Regions from separate parts of the Homo sapiens genome. Here region 1 is linked to region 2. Evidence: promoter capture Hi-C in human tissues and cell types (Jung and others, 2019). All regions are on one chromosome and are shown on one strand. Each heading gives the region's core, a stretch centred on a gene start or on the middle of the fragment in contact. The rest is flanking DNA. Distances are from core to core; before and after follow the strand shown.

What was found. The method cuts DNA at HindIII sites, captures the fragments that hold promoters and counts their contacts. A contact is called where the count stands out against the background at its distance.
Region 1: a contact is called between a fragment that was not itself captured here and the fragment with the promoter of A2ML1 in region 2, in 2 of the 25 tissues and cell types used here (H1 embryonic stem cells and mesendoderm cells).

Annotation. Positions count from the first base shown.
Region 1 is chr12:8,528,124-8,531,870 of GRCh38, reverse strand. It overlaps a transcript of CLEC4D not described here. Among named protein-coding and RNA genes, the nearest start is that of CLEC4E, 11 kb to the left of the region's middle. The HindIII fragment of the contact is 4,465 bases long and covers 120-3,747 here.
Region 2 is chr12:8,821,008-8,825,026 of GRCh38, reverse strand. A2ML1 (alpha-2-macroglobulin like 1) reads right to left here and starts at 2,406. Exons shown (of 36, transcript NM_144670.6): 1 at 2,314-2,406; 2 at 1,662-1,845; 3 at 1,145-1,307. The coding sequence starts at 2,375. All of the region lies in intron 1 of A2ML1-AS1 (A2ML1 antisense RNA 1), which reads left to right. The HindIII fragment of the contact is 7,738 bases long and covers 788-4,019 here.

The sequences.
Region 1 (3,747 bases), core at 1,103-3,602, 290 kb after region 2:
TTGCAATTGGTGAGAAAAAGATGTTACTTTTTCTCCCCTATGACTTCAAGAGTTAGATGAAAAGATGGAAAAACAAAGAGTTAAAAAAACCCAAATATATATATATATTTACATGTATACACACATACACACATGCATTGACACACTTTTAGAAAGGAATTATACAACAGATAATACTTTAATTTTTTAAATTTTATTTTGGTTTTGATTGACACATAATAATTGTACACATTTGTGGGATACAATGCGATGTTTCAATACATGTGTATGCTCTATATTAATCAAATCAGGGTAATTAGCACATTCATTACCTCAAACGTTTAAAAAATTGAAGTGAAATTGAAGAATTACTGAGTTCAAGAATGTTACAGCCTTTATAGATTATGAAAAAGAGTTATTTCCCAGAAGGTCCCTCTGAAGTAAAAAACAAAACAAAACAAACAAAAAATTATAAACAATCAACAATTAAGTCAAATGTTTTTGCTCTCCTGTTTCCCAATCCCCTTTTCTACCTTTCCGTTTCCTGATAATGACTCCTAAAATCATTGCACGTGGGTGGAGCAGAGCAAGGTGGTCTTTATACGTGTGTGCATGTATATGCGGGAGGGGGAGAGGGACGCATGACTACCCCTCAGAGAGTTAGATCCCAGACAGTGTAAAGGGGAGATTGTGGGGGAAGCAGGAGACAGTAAGGATGTCAGAACGCCAGTGGGTTCAGCAGGGCATCCTGGTGGGGGTTGGACTGTCCCAAAGTCTCAAAGCCTGAGCTAGAGTGAGGAGGACGCCCATACGTGGGGGTGGTTGAGCAAAGGTGTCTGAGCCGAAGCAGGAGGACTATCTAGGAGGGCCACAGGGCACCGGGCAGGGTGAGGTGGATGTCCACACAGGTCATTCAGCACAGGATGGAGAGGTAGAGCCTGAGCGGGTCAGCATATATGTCGTGCAACCAACTTTAAAATTTCGCACGGTTTACTCTTGGGTATCTTAGAATTGTATTGCCATTGTAAGTGTAATATTATTTTGTACATTTTGCAGAGTATTATATTGTTGATTTTTGTATAATAATAATTTATCCAGAAACACTGTTTAACTTTCCTAATTTTTTAAAACATTTTGTCCATACATTCCCTTTTATTTTCTGTGTAGATAATTATACTGTCTAAAACACTGAGCTATCCAGTACAGTAGCCACCAGCCACAGTAGACTATTAAGCACTATCCTAATTGAGATATTCTGTAAGTGTAAAATACACACTAGTTTTTTTGATAATTTGAAAAAAGAATATAAAATATGTCACTAAGAATTTTATATGGATTACATGTCAAAATGATAATATTCTAGATATGTTTGTTCAAATAAAATAAGTTATTAGAATTAATTTCACTTCTTCGGGCTTTTTTTTTTTTTTTTGCTTTCTTGATATAATTACTGGAAAATTTAGACATATGCAACTCACATTTTTGCCTTTCACTATATTTCCCTGGGACAGTTCTGGTCTAGAAATAATGATAGTTGTGGGTTTTTAAAACTCCCTTCCAGTTCTTTTGGTCATATTGAGCTGGCTAGGAATGCCAACATATTGTTGCATAAAGCTGCTATAGTTTTGTTCTTAAACTTAAAGAAAATGCTTCTAATGGCTTACCATTAAATCTAATAGTTGCTACAGGTTTGGGGTAGACATCCTGCAGAAAATTCCTTTCATTTCTTCTTTGTTAAATGTTTTAACACTAAGTGGTTTATTGATTTTACTAGATGATGCTTTAGCAGCTCTTTTAAAATGTTGATAAGATTAATTACATTAATAGATTTGCACACTATGTACATATATGCACATTGTTTAAAAAAACAAATTCTTCTAGAGGATTGTAATTAAAAATAGCTGTTTCCTGCCCACTTCTGATTCCCACACCTAAGTGGCAATCGTATTCAACCGTTTAGATGCTTCTTTTCTATTGAGTTCCATGTTTCTATTTCTATCAAAAGTTTATACTATAATTCCTTGATTTTTTTCAGTTTTAGATAATTTCTATGAGCTCCACACTAATGAAAACAAGAATAGTCTTCTTTCTCTCTCTCTTTCCCATCCCCCTGCTATCACTATATAATCATTTATTTAAAAATCAGTATTCAACATTTGCACTGGTATGAATATGTAAATATTATTCACAGCTGAACCATTTGCTGTATTCTTACTACATATTTTTAATTACATTTTGCTTTTTATGGAGTTAATATTGACATCTTTTCTTTTTTTGGAGACAGGATCTCACTCCGTCCCCAGGCCAGGGTACAGTGGCACAATCATGGCTTCATTGGAGCCTCGACTTCCTGGGCTCAAGCAATCCTCCCATATCGGCTTCCCAAGTAGTTAGGACTACAGGTGCACACCACCAAACACAGCTAATTTTTTAATTTTTTGTAGAGACAGGGTCTCACTTTGTTGCCCAGGCTGGTCTCAAACTGCTGGCCTCAAGTAATCCTCCCACCTTGGCCTCCCAAAGTGCTGGGATTACAAGCTTGAGCCACCATACAGGACCCATTTTTTTATATTTATCTAGCTTTCTGCGTACTGACATAATTCACCTTTTAACTCTTCAGAAATGTATATCACCTCTCAATTCATTCAAATGCATTCCATCTATCCCATAATTTTGTAGGGAAAAAAATCTTCCTTGGAAAATTTCCTTCCTTTCCCAATCTGAACGGAGATTGCTCTGGTGATTTGCTTCACAGCCATTACTTTGCTAAGTGTTATTAAAAAAGAAAATATTTTGTAATTTTAAGGTTATTTCAAATTATGTTGCAACAATGCAATATAAATGCTATTCACTTATAAGAACAAGATATAAATCAAAACTATATTGTTAAGTAAAAAATGCAAATGTTTAAGAATATGTAGATTATATTTCTATTCATATTTAAAATGTGGATTATATATCTATATATGTTTAGTATATAACATGTATGTAATTATATGTTTATTATGTATAGTACATAGTTTATATATAGTATATATTCTTATACACTTTATATGTAGTACATATAGTATAACCATTTATGGAAATGTAAATAAGAAACTGATAATCATAGTTACTCTGAAGAGGCATTTCAGTAACTAGAGTTCAGGTTAGAAGATTTATTTATCTTCTACGTTTACTAATGTTTTTACAGTTTGCCTTTTTAACACACATATATTACTGTTTCAAAAATGAAAACACTGCTTGAAATTTTTAAGAATTTTAAGCTTCTAGGACTACCATAATGTACTAAAATAATTAGAACCTATTTTTATGAAATTACTGTCTTTGTCTTGAAGAGATTGTGATGAGGTGCCATGAGAGTTCAGAATAGACTAAAAGAGACTATGGATGTGTATTAGTTCATTTTCTGCTGCTTATAACAGGATATCTGAGACTAGAAATTTATAAAGAAAAGAAATTTATTTCTTATAGTGATGGAGGCTGAGAAGTCCAAGGTCAAAAAGCTGTGTCTGGTGAGGGCCTTCTTGCTGGTAGGGACTCTCTAAAGAGCCTCAAGGTGGTACAGGGATCACACAGTGAGGGTGCTGCGTGTGCTAACATGCTAGCTCAGGTCCCTCTTCCTCTTTTTATAATGCCACCAGTTTTCTGCCTATGATAACCCATTAATACATCAACCCATTAATCCACTATTCTATAACTGGGAGTTAATTCATTCATGAGGATAGAACCCTCATTATCTGATTGCTTCTTAAATGCCCCACCTCT
Region 2 (4,019 bases), core at 1,157-3,656:
CAAGATATGGAAGCAACCTAAGTGTCTATGAACAGATGATAAAAAATGGATTAAAAAATGTGGTACACATACATAATGGAGTACTATTCAGCCATAAAAAAGAATGAGACCCCATCCTTTGCAACAGCCTGAATGGAACAGGAGGTCATTATGTTAAGTAAAATAAACCAGACACAGAAAGACAAACTTTCCATGTTCTCATTTATTTGTGGGAGCTAAAAATTAAAACAATTGAAGTCGTGGAGATAGAGAATAGAATAATAATTTTTAAGTGTGTGGAAAAAAATAAGGTAAAAGGAAAAAAATTTTTTTGAAAGAGAGAGAGAGAACAGAATGATGGTTACCAGATGCTGGGAAGGGTAATGGTGGGCAGGATGAGGGGTGGGGTGGGAATGGTTAATGGGTACAAAAATATATTTAGCTAGAATGAATAAGATCTAGGGATCTTGTAGTTTTTAGCACAAAGAGTGACTACAGTCAACAATAATTTATTGCACATTTAAAAATTACTAAGAGAGTATAATTGGATTGTTTGTAATACAAGGAAATGATAAATGCTTGAGGTGATGGATACACATGTACCCTGATGTAATGATTACACATTGTGTGTGTGTATAAAAATATCTCATCTACCCCATAAATATATATACACCAGCTATGTACCCACAAAAATTTTAAATAAAAAAATAAAAAAAACCCAAACATAGTTTCTTTTCAGGGTGCCTGACTTTGAAATCTCAGAATGAAGTGCCCCTGTAAGGACGAATGAACAAATACAAAAAAAAAAAAAAAAAAAAAAAAAAACCCCAGTAGCTCAAGCCAAATGCCCTCAGTGCTTTCTTAGCCATTTACAAGCAGTTTGTTGTAAGGCCCAGCAACCCAGTTATACTTGCCAAATTCTATTCCAGAAGAAATGTGTACTTTTGTTTTAGATACACAAACTCAGTAGCAACCCCCACCTACTTCTCTTGCTTGTGTAGCGCAGCATGTATTCAACACTTGCACTACTTAATCCCCCCAGATTTTCCTCTCCTCTGCACTCCTTTTTTTCCAAAGCCTACTGTCAAACCACAAATCCCCTCTTTACCCCTGTGCACAGCGGTTTCCCCAGGTTTTAGTCGAACCCCAAATATGTGACTCTTACCTTGCTGCCCTGGGGTGTAGAGAGGTTTGTCAGTCTGTACAAAGGTGCCGTTCCCCTGCCTCTGAATTAGAACCTTTTTCTTCTCCTCAAAGCTGATGTTATTTCCAACTCCCGACACCCGGATTGTGGCCACTTCTTCTGTGCCACCAGCAGGAGGTGGTACCTGACCAAGAAAGGGGACTTCTGGGGAGGGGTAAGGGATTGGGGGAACAGAATCAACTGGTCTCAACCCAACAGTGAGTTAAAGGAAAGAGCTGAGTTAGATGGGGGTAGCAAGGATAGAGACATAAAACAAATTACCACGAGGAAGAATTAAGGTCAGGAACTAAAGGGAGAAATCCTAGGTCGAGGAAACCGTGGGTGAGTTATAGCCGGGGATTGAGGTTAAGTTGAGAAAAAATAGGTTTAGAGGCCGTGGCAAAAGATAACAGAAATTATACTTAAAGTAGATTATAGTGAGCCTAGGGAGGAGAATAGGCAAGTAAGGGATTCGAGTGAGGGCTGAGTCTGTGCTTACAAGAAAGGAGATACAATGTAAGTGCCTCTTCTTCAGTCCAGAGTATTCTAGCAACTTCTGGGTCTTGTCCTTGGTCTCCAGAGTAACCGTGAATTTAACATCACTGTACCCAGGGCTCAGGTCCAAACAAACCTTCTGAACGGAGGGGAAATTTAGCCGGGCTGGTAATGTCACCAGGTAGTTTCTATTAAAGGAGCAGAAGGATTTCAGGGCAATAATGATTCATTCACTCGAAAAATCCAGCACTCTCCTAAGCGCTCAGCAAGTAGCAGTGAATTAGACAGACCAAGCCCCTGCCTTCCTTATGCACCTCATTTTCTACAAGAAGCAGAGGGGCAACGACTCAGTGCACAGTCTTCAACTTCCGCCATCAGGAGGCCCTCACCGAGCACACATGCCTAGAGCACCAAGGAGGAAATTAGGCCTATTTCAGAAAACAGGGCACATTTTAATATTTATCTTTTTTAAAGCTTCCTCTTCATGCGTCAGCCTCCCTCTCTGGGTAAAGGATCAGTGGAACCAAAGAAGAGAAAAAAGGAGGAGGAAATTAAGATAAACCAAAGTTGATCTCCCCATCTCCATATAAATGTTTGAGAAAGTTAGGCGAAGAAGCCGCTGCCCTAATAAACCAATTCTGACACCAAGCACTCACGGAAGTTCTTCTGCAATGGCTGGTGATAGGGCCAACATTCCTAGAAGGAGCTGAGCCCACATCTTTGTGGGTGAGACAGATTTTTCCAGGGTCAGGGGCAGAGATCGCTCCGCGTAGCTTTATATACTAATTCCAGGTAGGGTGTGCAGTGATGACTGATGCTATAGTCAGTCACCTCCTGGCACCTGGAACACAGGAGGACTGTGTTCCTCCTTCTGTAACCACCAGGTTAGGTGGTGGACCAGGGTAGGGCCACTATTCACTTCTTTAAAGTTGTTTCTGCCTGGAACATCCATACTGGTTCAGCCAGTTTTGGGGGAAAACCAGAGCTGAGTATTCATAATGGTAAAGCTCTCAGAACATATTTTGAACTCCTCCCTTTTTTTCTGGTCTCATTCCAATTCCTGTTCTCATTTAATGTCCTTATTTTCTTTTATTATTCAATTAAGGTGTAGTTGGGAACACGGGTATGAGAACAGTTTCAATAGAAAAGCAGTAAACTTGGCCGGTCACAGTGGCTCACGCCTGTAATCCCAGCACTTTGGGGGGTTGAGGTGGGCAGATCACCAGGTCAGGAGTTCAAGACCAGCCTGGCCAACATAGTGAAACCCTGTCTCTACTAAAAATACAAAGAAAAAAAAATCAGCTGGGCATAGTGGTGGGTGCCTATAGTCCCAGCTACTTGGGAGGCTGAGGCAGGAGAATCGCTTGAACCCGGGAGGTGGAGGTTGCAGTGAGCCGAGATCATGCCACTTTACTCCAGCGTGGGTGACACAACGAGACTCTGTCTCAAAAAAAAAAAAAATTAATACTACTCAGTATTGTTGTGACTGTATGGAAATAGGGACACACACAGTCCTAGAGAAAATAGAATGTGGATAACTTTCTCATGGCAATTTTGTAATACACACCAAAGCCTTTGAGATTTGCATATTCTTTCACTCAGCAACTCCTACTCTGGAAATGTTTCTTAATGAGGAAAAAAAGGACAGCATGCATGTATGCACAAGTGTAACACTGAGTTTTTTCACACTGTTCTTTCTTTTTTTTCTTTTCTTTATTTTTTATTTTTTTGAAGTAGAGTCTCACTTTATCACCCAGGCTGGAGTGCAGTGGCACAATCTCAGCCCACTGCAGCTTTGACCTCCTGGGCTCAAGCGATCCTCCCACCTCCACCTCCTGAGTAGCTGGGACCACAGGTAGGCACCAACACTCCTGGCTAATTGTTTTGTATTTTTAATAGAGACAGGGTTTCACCATGTTGCCCAGGCTAGTCTCGAACTCCTGAGCTCCAGGGACCACCTCAGCCTCCCAAAGTGCTGGGATTACAGGTATGAGCCACCGTGCCCAGCCCACAGTGTTCTTTATGATGGTAATACTTAGAAGTCACCTAAAATATAAATTAGTCTAAGTGCAGTGGCTCATGCCTATAATCCCAGCTTTTGGGAGTCAGAAGCTGGAGGATTGCTTGAGCCCAAGAGTTTGAGACCAGCCTGGGCAACATAGTGAGACCCCGTTTTGTAACCACCCAATGGATTCACCTTGCTTGCTGCCTAGACAGAGCCGATTTATCAAGACAGGGGAACTGCAATGGCAAAAGAGTAATTCACGCAGAGCCGGCTGTGTGGGAGACTGGAGTTTTATTATTACTTAAATCCTTGAGCCTTCGTGGATCAGAGTTTTTAAAGATAATTTGGCAGGTAGGG